Regions from separate parts of the Homo sapiens genome. Here region 2 is linked to region 1. Evidence: promoter capture Hi-C in 16 types of primary human blood cells and fetal thymus (Javierre and others, 2016). All regions are on one chromosome and are shown on one strand. The core of a region is centred on a gene start or on the middle of the fragment in contact, and the rest is flanking DNA. Distances in the headings are between cores, read along the strand shown.

What was found. The method cuts DNA at HindIII sites, captures the fragments that hold promoters and counts their contacts. A CHiCAGO score of 5 or more calls a contact.
Region 2: a contact is called between a fragment that was not itself captured here and the fragment with the promoter of KCNG1 in region 1, in 1 of 17 cell types (endothelial precursors). The highest score is 5.3, in endothelial precursors.

What each region holds. Positions count from the first base shown.
Region 1 is chr20:51,020,903-51,026,277 of GRCh38, reverse strand. KCNG1 (potassium voltage-gated channel modifier subfamily G member 1) reads left to right here and starts at 3,171. Exons shown (of 3, transcript NM_002237.4): 1 at 3,171-3,408. RefSeq lists a silencer at 3,073-3,242 and an enhancer at 4,967-5,375. The HindIII fragment of the contact is 2,899 bases long and covers 2,435-5,333 here.
Region 2 is chr20:51,190,888-51,196,262 of GRCh38, reverse strand. No RefSeq gene overlaps it. Among named protein-coding and RNA genes, the nearest start is that of KCNG1, 170 kb to the right of the region's middle. The HindIII fragment of the contact is 2,146 bases long and covers 2,042-4,187 here.

The DNA.
Region 1 (5,375 bases), core at 1,922-4,421:
TAAGCCCAGCCCCATCTCTAGAGGTGGCCATTAGTTCCTATGGATCCTACATAAGAAGAAGCTGGCTTGAGTTTGTCCCGGGACCTCATGAGGGCTCCGAAGTCAGACCCAGCTGGGTAGGCGTTCAAGTCTTCAATATCAGTGGTTCTCAAAGTGGGATCCCCAGACCTGATGCATGAGCATCAGCAGGGAACTCCTCAGAAGGACCCTACGCCAGACCCACTGAATCAGCCACTCCAGGGTGGGGGCCAGCCGTCTGGGTTTTAATAAGCCCTCAGGGGGATTCAGATGCACAGTAAAGTCTGAGAGGCCCTGCTCTGCATCCTTACCCTGTGAGCATCAGTGAGGAGTCTGACTCTCTGACGCAGTCACATCTATTCCAGAAAACTGTCCTGAATTCCCCCAGGAATCATTTCCAGGAATCATTTAAGAAGCCTGCTCTGTATGTGCCTAGCAGAGTGGGAGCTGCTGGAGAGGGGAGAGACAGCACACAGTCCTTGCCCTGATGGAGCTTGGTCCCCAGTGGGGACACAGATAATACGCAAGTAAAAAAGATAGAAACATGGCCAGGTGCAGCGGCTCACATCTGTAATCCCAGCACTTTGGGAGGCCAAGGTGGGTGGATGTCTTAAGCCTAGGAGTTCCAGACCCGCCTGTCTCTGCAAAAAATATATTTTGTTTTAAATTAGTGGTGCATGGTGGTGTGTGGTAGTCCCAGCTACTCAGAAGTCTGAGGCAGGAGGATCCCTAGAGCCCAGGAGTTAGAGGTTACAGTGAGCTATGATTGCACCACTGCACTCCAGCGGGTGACAGAGTCAGACCCTGTCTCAAAAACAAGATAGAGAGCAATTTTCTGGCTGGGTGCAGTGGCTCACGCCTGTAATTCCAGCATTTTGGGAGGCTGAGGCTGGCGGATCACTTGAGGTTGCGAGTTCAAAACTAGCCTGGCTAACATGGTGAGACTCCGTCTCTACTAAAAATACAAAAATTAGCTGGGCATGGTGGCACACACCTGTAGTCCCAGCTACTCAGGAGGCTGAGGCAGGAGAATCGCTTGAACCCAGGGGGATGGAAGTTGCAGTGAGCTGAGATCACACCACTGCACTCCAGCCTGGGAGACACAGAGAGACTATGTCTCAAAAAAAAAAAAAAAAAAAAAAATTTCAGATGGGAAAGGAAGGCAGAAGCCTGATCCACCACAAGAGGAGTGTTTCTCAATATGTAATCCAGGGACCCTCTGACAACAAAAGCCCACCCCACCCCACTCAGGCCCCTCCCCCACACTGCTGGTTGGTCTCTTTGATGTTTCTCAGACATGCCTCCTTCTCTCCTGCTTGAAGGCCAGTGCCTTTGATGTTCTGTCCACCTAGAAAGCTCTCTTCCCATCTTGCCAGATGGGCTCCTTCTGGCTCAGGGCTCCATGTAACCATCACCTCCACAGGAGCCCTCCCCCATTATTCTATCTAAAGTGGCCTCTCTGGCTTCATTCTGCAATCACGTATTTCAGCAGTTTCCCAATTCTGCCAAGCCCCCAGTAGAAGGTGAGCTCTTGGAAACAGGTCCTTAGGCAGATCCTTGTCTGTCCAGGCCTCCACCTCACCAGTAAGCCAGTGTTTTTATTCTTGTTGTTTTAGAGGCTGGATCTCGCTCAGTCACGCAGGCTGGATTGCAGTGGTGCCATCATAGTGCACTATAACCTGGAACTCCTATGCTCCACCCGGCTGGGACTGCCGCGCAGGCTAGTGTGCCCTGCGCTCATTTCTTAGGGTTAACCCTAACCCACTTAATGAGCACCCACGACTCCCCAACCCGAGCCCCACTCAAGCAGAAGGCCTCAGGCTGGTCGGCAGCAGGGTTTCTTCATGTCCTTTCTTGGTTCTCTGATGATAGGCAAAGGCAGTAGAGACAGAAAGGAAAAGAGGAACGGAGTGCAAGAGACAGAAAGGAGAAGAGGAACGGAGTGCAAGAGACAGAAAGGAGAAGAGGAACGGAGTGCAAGGCAAGCCACCCTAAGAGGCCAGCCCTGCCAGCAGCACAGATCCCTCCAAACCAATAGGTCCCTCCAACTCAGTAGATTCCTCCAACCCAATAGATCCCTCCAACCCAACCTCCAGCATCTGTGCAGCATCCTACCAACTCCGAGGCTAGGCGGCCACACTGGGAGCAAGACCCCAGGACCTGGTCCAAGTGCCCTGCACCGGCCAGGGGAGTGGACGACGAAGTGCGGCTCTGCTAGCCCGGGAGGGCTCTGGGGCCTCGGCCCCGCGGGACTGGAAGGGAAAACACCTGGCACGGTACGTACTGGCCCTAGGAATTTGGCACAGCAAGATGCTGGCAGTCCCTGGGTGGCGGTGGCAGGAAGGGCCCAAGGGCAACATTGGTCTAGGAGGTCGAGAAAAGGCGCGCGATATATGGCCCCCAGGATGTGGAAGCTTGCTTGGAGCGTTCGGCTCCAGGGCAGCAGCGCGTGGAGGGCCTCAAGGATGCAGTATTTGCCCGGGGTAGGGGGGCGAGGGACCCAGAGGCAGCAGTGCACTTGGACTTCCAGGACTTCCAGGGAAAGGCAGGAGACATGGCGCATGTGGTTCCCAGGATGTGTAAGCGCGTGGAGCGCGGCCCCGGGGCAGCGGAGAGTGGGGTTTTAATATCTAGCACATGTAGACCCTGGGGCGGTGCTGCTAGGGGCGCGGACCCGGGACCACCGGAGCACTTGCACCGCGGGGAAAGCTGACAGGGCGCGCGACCCTAGGAGGCTGCCGCGCCGCCTGGTGCGTGAAGCTCCAGGGCAGCGGAGCGCGGGGACCTTGAAGGCTGTCGCGTGCAGGCGAAGGGGCCGCAGGGTGGTCGCTCCTGGGAGAGCAGACGGGGAAGAAGGCAACGGGAGGGAGGGCGTAGCGCGAGCAGTCCCGGACGCGGGCTCAGGAACTGGCCGCGAGGAGCGCAATCCAGCAGGCGCGCCAGGGCCCCCGGATCCAAGGTGCGGGGTCCCGATTGGGCGCCTGGACGCCCCGTGACGGTGGCGCCGCTGCCACTGTCCCGAAGCGAGGCGAGGCCAGGCGCTGCGCTTTCGGCTGCCCGCCCCTTCTCCCCGCCCCGCGCTCAGTCCCCTCCCTCCGTCCCGCCTCCTGCCTCGCTCCCTCCCTCGGCGGCTGCTGCGCCGCGCTCCCGGCGCACTCGGAGCCCGGCGGGGACCGGGAGGCAGAGACGGGGCGGCCGTGGCTCCGAGGGCGGGAGCTGAGCCGGGCCCCGGGACCGAAGTTTGGCGGCGGCTCCGGGAGGCAGAGCGGGCTCCCCGGGCGACTTCCAGGCCCCTCTCGCGTCCTCGCCCCGGACCCGTGGGCAGCCGGGGGGAACGGAAGCCGCGGCCGGGCCAACTCCGAGGCGGGGACGCCGCGACGGGAACTTGAGGTGGGAACTTTGCGCGCTGCAGCCTCGCCGGGCGCCACCGAAGCGCGAACCGGACCCCGAGCCTGCAAACTCGGGCTCGGGGGCGGCTGCACGTGGCCGTGGCCCTGAACTCCCTGCGGGGGCCTCGAAACCCGCCTGCGGGGAGGCCAGGGCGACAGAGGACTCGGGAGTCACCGCTGGTGCGTGGCGGCGTGGAGCGCGCTTGTTACGGCCAAGGTGCGGGTCCGGCTTCGGTTCATCCCAAGGGGTCACCGGGATGCGAAGTCCGGGACGTTCGCCGCCGCGGTGACCCCGGCGGGGGCGCATCCCGGCTGTGGGCCGAGGTTTCTCCCCCGATCCTGGGAGGAAGGAGAGTTAGGGATTGGGGTGGGGGAGTGTGTGTCACTTGCTCATTCACTGTATCCTTAGGCACAGTATGGAGCCCCCCTTCACCCCCACCGTGGGCCTGATTGAGTCATTCATTATGAACACAGCAAGCGTTTATTGAGCGCCTACTGTGTGCTAGGCACTGGGGATACTGAGACAGTTCACTGGGCACCCCCAGGAACTGGTAGGAAGGTGGTGGTCTCAGCCTTAGGGTTTCCATGTGGGAGAGAGGCTCAGCCCGGAGGTATGGAAGGAAAAGGGTGAAGTTCATTCATTCATTCATAGATTGGACAAAGATTGGTTGAGCACCTATTGTAAGCAGCTCATCATACCAAGCGCTCAACAGTCATTCATCCAGTTCACAAACATTTATGGAGGCGCTATGCTGGGGAGAAGTGAAGAGGGATGGAATGGGGGCACCCTTCATGCAGCTTAGAGAGAAGTAAGGATTAAGACCCAGGCCCCCGCTTGGGAGGCCGCAGACTGCCGGGGTGGCCAACTGTAGCAGCCCATGTATATAGGCAGAAGTCTTGGTTCATCTAATGCATTCCTTCTCAAGGTGGGAGGTGTGGAAGCTGGAATTGGTTCTAGAATAGGAAGAAAAGATCTTTTCAAAGCTCCTTAGGGGCGGGTGATGGGGTAGGGTGGGGAGGAGTTGAGAAACACTGATCCGACATTACTGAGGAATGCAGGTTCCCACCAATGGGGTTTATGAGTTAGGTTGTCCATTCAGCAGGCATTTTCTTAAGCACTCGCTGTTATTAAGCACTTAAAGGGTGCCAGGCACCAAAGTTACCCAGGTAAATGACAGACACATAGAAGAGGGAGACAGACACAGACGCCCCCACCCCCTTTGCTGACTCCCTGAGATAAGTACAGGGGGAAGTAAGAGGAGGGAGCAGGAACTGGTCTGATTCATTGTGGGGTGGGGGAAGTTCCTGCCCTATGAATCTGAGCAGAGGTTTATTCATTAGTGTGTGTTTGATACCCCCATACCCATGATGGCAGAGTCCCTATGAAGAGCCTCACCGGCAGCACATCTCCAAGAAAAGTTTGGCACTGCTGATTGGGGCCTTGCGGTCGGCACTGTGGCTAGGGCATGCTGTCCTTCTTTGGGGGATTTTTCAGGCTCTGCCAGACCTGAGCTCTATTTGTGCCTCCCCCGGCTTTTGGAGCCCTGCAGAGTCGCCTGATAGGAGGGGAAGGAGGGAAGGTGTGTTTGAAAAACAGGCAAGCGCTGGCCCCTGGGGATCACCCTCCTCAGTCATTCTCGAAGCCAGCCCGTTCCACGGGAAAGATGTCTGTCCTGGGACACACTCCTAACCTGCAGGGAACTGCAAGCACACTGGAAACGAGGCAACCTAGGTTCTTCTCCTGAGACTTGAGAGCCCAGGCCCGCAGCCTACAGCCTGGGTTGTCAAACCTTGGGAGTAAAAAAATCAACCAAACCCCTAGTTTTGCCAAACTCTGGGTTGCCTTTTTGGCCTCTGGGAGGGAGATGTGACATGGGAGGCAGAGGTTACTTGCTTCTCCCCATCCCCAAAGACTTTCCCGAAGCTTGTCCTGGAGCCTGATTGGGGCAGATCTGAGCACCACTTTGA
Region 2 (5,375 bases), core at 1,865-4,364, 170 kb before region 1:
TCATTGAACTCTCAGGATAATCGTTTCAAGTGGGTACAGCACTGTCCCCATTTTATGGATGGTCACACTGAGGCTCAGACAGGTTAAACAATATTTCCAGGGTCATAGGGCTCGCAAATGGCTAAGCCTGGGCTCTTCAACAGCCTGCTATATTGCTTATTTCAGTGGACAAGGGCATGAGATCTAGAGGCAGGATGCCCGCACTCAAAACTGTGGCTCTTACGTTGGCTCTGTAACCCTGGGCAAACTACTTTCCTTCTCTGTGCCCCAGTGACCTCAACTGTAAAGTGGGAATCATCTTACACACGTCATAAGTATCACGTTGATTGAATAACCCACATATACTGCTTGGTACAGAGCCCAGCACTTTCTAAGGACATAATAAATATGAATTGGATATAGTTTGGGTGTGTGTCCTCTGCAAACCTCATGTTGAAATGTGATCCCCGATGTTGGAGGTGGAGCTTGGTGGGAGGTGTTTTGGTCACGGGGGTGGATTCCCTCATGAATGACTTGGCGTCCTCCCTGCGGTAATGAGTCAGTTCTCACTCTATTAATTCACATGAGAGCTGCTGTTTAAAGAGCCCGGCACCTCCTCCCTTTTCTCTTGCTCCCTCTCTCACCATGCTACACACCTGCTCCCCGTTCACCGTCCACTATAATTATAAGCTTCCTGAGGCTCTCCCCAGAGGCAGATGCTGGTGCCATGCTTCCTGTACAGCCTGCAGAACAGTGAGCCAAATAAACCTCTCTTCTTTGTAAACTACCCAGCCTCAGATATTGCTTCATAGCAATGCAAAACAGACGGAGGCAGTTCTTGCGATAACAGGGGTTCGACTGCTAGAACCCGTTTATGCCAAATGCAGCCCTGACTTAGAAGAGGAAGGCCTGGAAGTGGCCAGCGCCGTCAACACAGAGCCATTCCTCTCATCTCACCAGACCAACTAAGCGACAACCACGAAGTGTTCCCAGCTCTATGAAGGAGAGGAAGGGCACATGGCACGTTCCTGGATGTGCACACGGTACACTGGTTGCAGTCATTTAATTAAACAGTGCTACAAGGGGGCACTTTGTTTGACGGGGCAAGCTGTCCTAGGGGAAACATTTTTAAGAAAATGGCAGGAGGGCTTTTACTTTAAAAAGTCATCCTCCCTCTACTTCTACGTAAACATATATCCAAAAGAACTGAAAGTAGGGACTGGAACAGATATTTGTTCGCCCAGCACTTTGAAAGCCTGAAGTGGGCAGATTACTTGAGCCCAGGAGTTCGAGACCAGCCTAGACAACATGGTGAGACCCCATCTCTATAAAATTTATACAAAGTTAATACAAAAATTAGCCAGTGCGGTGATGCATGCACTTATAGTCCCAGCTATTCAGAGGCTTAGGTGGGAAGATCACCTGAGCCTGGGAGGTGGAGATTGCAGCGAACTGAGATCGCACCACTGCCCTCCAGCCTGAGCAATGATAGTAACAACCACCAAGTTAAGATGGTAAATTTGACGTTACATGTATTTTACTACATTAAAAAAATACAAATAAAAAACACACTTGCTAAGTAAAGAAGCCAGTCACAAAGACTACGATTCCATTTATGTGAGATGTCCAGATAGGCCAATCCATAGATACAGAAAGCGGATCGTGGTTGCCAAGGGTTGAGGGAGTTGGCACAACGGAGTGTGACTGCCAATGGGCACAGGGTTTCTTTCTTGGGATACCGAAAAATGTTCTGGAATTAATAGTGGCTATGTCTGCACTACTGTGAATGTACTAACAACTCCTGAATTCTATACTTTAAAGGAGGGAATCTTATGGCATGTGAATTCTATCTTAATATAATTGGCTATGAAAAGGAAAGTTGCTGTCGGGAAAAAAAAAAAAAATCATCCTCTCCTCTGCTCACTTTCCCCCCAGCGGTCCCTGAGCTCTTGAGGCTTGAGGCCTTTGCAAACGCCATTCTCTCTGCCTGGAACGCCTTTCACTCCCGGTCCACACCTACACCATGCGTGGTTCATACTTTCTCATCCTTCAAGCGTAAGCTTCATTTCCAGGAACCTCCCTGTCTCCGTGGGACCTGGAGTGCCTGGAACTCCCCTTCAAAGACTCACAGGCTCATATGTGTTCCCTCCTCCCAGCAGCAACACCAAGGCAACATCACGCTCCACAAATGAATGACTCCACCTCTCAGCAATTACGGGGCTGGAGGGCAAGTTACAGGATTCCCTGGCCTCGTTCTTCCTCACCTGTAAGATGGAGCTAACACTGCTTTTCTCATGGAAGTTTATGAGCGGTGGCCAGGCGTGGTGGCTCACTCCTGTAATCCCAGCACTTTGGGAGGCCAAGGTAGGTGGATCACTTGAGGTCAGGAGTTCGAGATCAGCCTGAACAACATGGTGAAACCCCATCTCTAATAAAAATACAAAAATTCACCGGGCATGATAGCCCATGCCTGTAATCCTAGTTACGTCAGGAGGCTAAGGCAGGAGAATCGCTTGTACCTGGGAAGCGGAGGTTTCAATGAGCCGAGATCATGCCACTGCACTCCTACCTGGGTGACAGAGTGAGACTCTGTCTCAAAAAAACAAAAAACAAAAACCGGTGGAGCCCTTCTCAAGTATCTGCAGTTGGTGACTTCATAAACAGCAGGAAAAGAGCCCCATTTGGTGATGAACCCGAGAGGAAATGAGCAACGTATAAGTCAGTCAAGGCTGAATTCCGGGGTCAAGTGGGGCTGGATGTGCGTTTTTAATTCAACTTGTCTTTCAAGGATTATCTATTGAGCAAACATTATGTGCCAGACACGGTCTCAGGTACTGGGGGCACAGTAGTGAACAAAACAGACAGGACAGATTGCACAGGGGTGCGGTGACGGGCGAGGGCAAGGGATGTTCATCCACTCAACAATACTGCTGAGCTCCCACTCGGTCGGGGCCCTGCTCTAGGCACTGGGGAGCTGGCAGTGGCCAAGAGAGGGAAGAGCTCCTGCCCTACAGAGCTGGCACCCAGTGGGAGGACAGATGACACAGCAGCAAGTCCACTTCAAATTGTGTCAAATTCCACGAAGCAAGTGAACAAAATGACAGTCAGAAAATAAACCGGAGCAGTGGAATAGCTTGCAAAGAAACAGCCTTTTGGAGGAGTCTCACTGAAGCTGAAGTAAGACCCGGGCATGTGAAGAGATGGGACAGAGAATTCCAGGACAAAGAAACAGCCAGTGCAGAGGTCCTGAGGCACGAACTGCTTACTTTGATGGGGGCAGGAGATGTTGTTGGAAAAGTGGGCAGAGTGCAGATGCCATCAGCCTGAAAAGACATGGTGAGGAGTTTGAGTTTTATCCCAAGAGCAATGGGAACACATTAAAAAAGTTAAAATGAAAAGAACTCAGGGTGTTCCGAGAACAACAAGATCTGCCTTCTCCGAGACAGCATATGTCTGGGGAAATGAAGTGAACTGAGGCCTGGTCATTTATATTTTATGCTTGCAGAACCAAAGACACTAGTGTTCTTTAGCAGCACGAGCAATGCCGGATTTCAACATTACTAAGCAGGATGAATAGGGGCAGGGAGAGACTGGAGTCAGGGAGGCTGGGGAGGCACTTCTATTAGATCAACTGAGAATTGATGGAGACCTGGATGAGCGGGGGTGGTGGGTCGGCTGGAGGGGAAGGGAGGGAGCAAAGCCTGGACTAAGGGATTAAAGAATTGGGAAGAACTGAAGATGGAAGCCAGGGACAGGTTTGGTCACCAGCAAACGAAAAAGCCCCAGATACCCCTGGCGTCCTGGGGAGGGTGTGTAGGACTGGACTCATCTGGAAAGAGAGACTCTCATGTCTCCTTTTACTATCAAAACACACGCACAGACCAAAATGCACAGATGCATGGGACATACTGGGCTGAAATAAAGATTCTGGGAATCTCTCAATTATTTAAAAGTATTTAAATTATTTAATTATTCCTTAGCAACAGGGGAAGCCTAGATGGAAATGTGTACTAACACACCGTGATATGTTATTTAAAATCCCAGGCAGTCCTTTCCTTTCCCTCTGTGACCAAATCAAGCAACGCCAGATGCTTTCTGTAGGTCATATCTTTTCATCTTCACAGTAACCAAAAATTAGGTCTTAGAGGCTATTTCTGCTCCTCTTCCTCTCCAGCCCAACTCTGCATTCTCACTTCCAGCTGAAAGCTTTGCCTGCCATTTAAAAAATCCTTGCCAGACCCATGTGAACCCTCAGCTACTATCCTACTTCTCTGATCCCATTGACAGATGAACACCTTATCACAGCGGACTCTATTTGCTGCCTCCTGGTCGCCTCCCCACATTGTGTCTTGGGCCCACTCCCATTGGGCATTCTTCCCCATTCACAAGGAGACAGCCTTAGTTAAGGTCACCAGTGACTTCTGTGTTGCCAATCCAATGGTTCCTTCTCAATGATAAGAGGGGGGTAGTCGATGGTTCAATTAACAGAGTTGTCCTGGGCCAGGTGTGGTGGCTCATGCCTATAGTCCCAGCATTTTGGGAGGCCAAGGTGGGAGGATCACTCAGGCCCAGGAGTTTGAGACCAGCCTGGGCAACATAACGAGACCCCACGTCTATTTAAAAAAAAAAAAAAGAGAGAGAGACAAAAGAGTTGTCCTGTGTGTTGAGCACATGAACAGTGACAGTTATGCCCATTTGACAAATGAGGAAACAGAGGTGACACAGAGATAAGAAGGCATTTGCCTGAGATTGGACGTCGAATGAGTTCTAGGCACCAAGGGAAGCAGGGAAGGGAGTGATACCCAATGCATGAGGTGCAGACCTGACCCCAAGGAAGTTTCCAGCAACCTTGCTGCAGGACAGGCAGGCCATAACCCCATACAGATTCCCCAGTAGTGTTCAAATCACACCACAGGCCCAACCCGTGCTATAGCAGAAAAAGCAAGGGGCAGAAGACTGTGGCTTAAGTCCCAGGACCACTCATGTCACTGCCTCTTGATGTGGGGACCCTGGGCAAGTCACCTGGCATCTGAGTCTCGGTTCTGGAATTTGCAAAATGAGATGTGACTTCTGGTCCTGCCTTCCTCACAAAGGGGCTGTGACAGTCCAGGGAGATGACGCGAGTGATGAGTGTTTGGCACACTAGGAAGTGGCGGAATATGACTATTTCCGCGCCGGCCCCATCTGCCGCTCTGCTCAGCACCCACAGCGGCAGATATGTAACATGACGTTTCCATGAATTCTTGCCATTAGGAATTCCCAACACCCACGCTTTTTCCCTTCTGAAAGTTCTGCTGCATAAAAGAGGCAGAGAACAAGCCACCCCCTCCTCCGCTTCTCTGGATAATTCTACACCACTCCCCCCTGCCCATCAAGTGTCTGTGGAATTCCAGCTT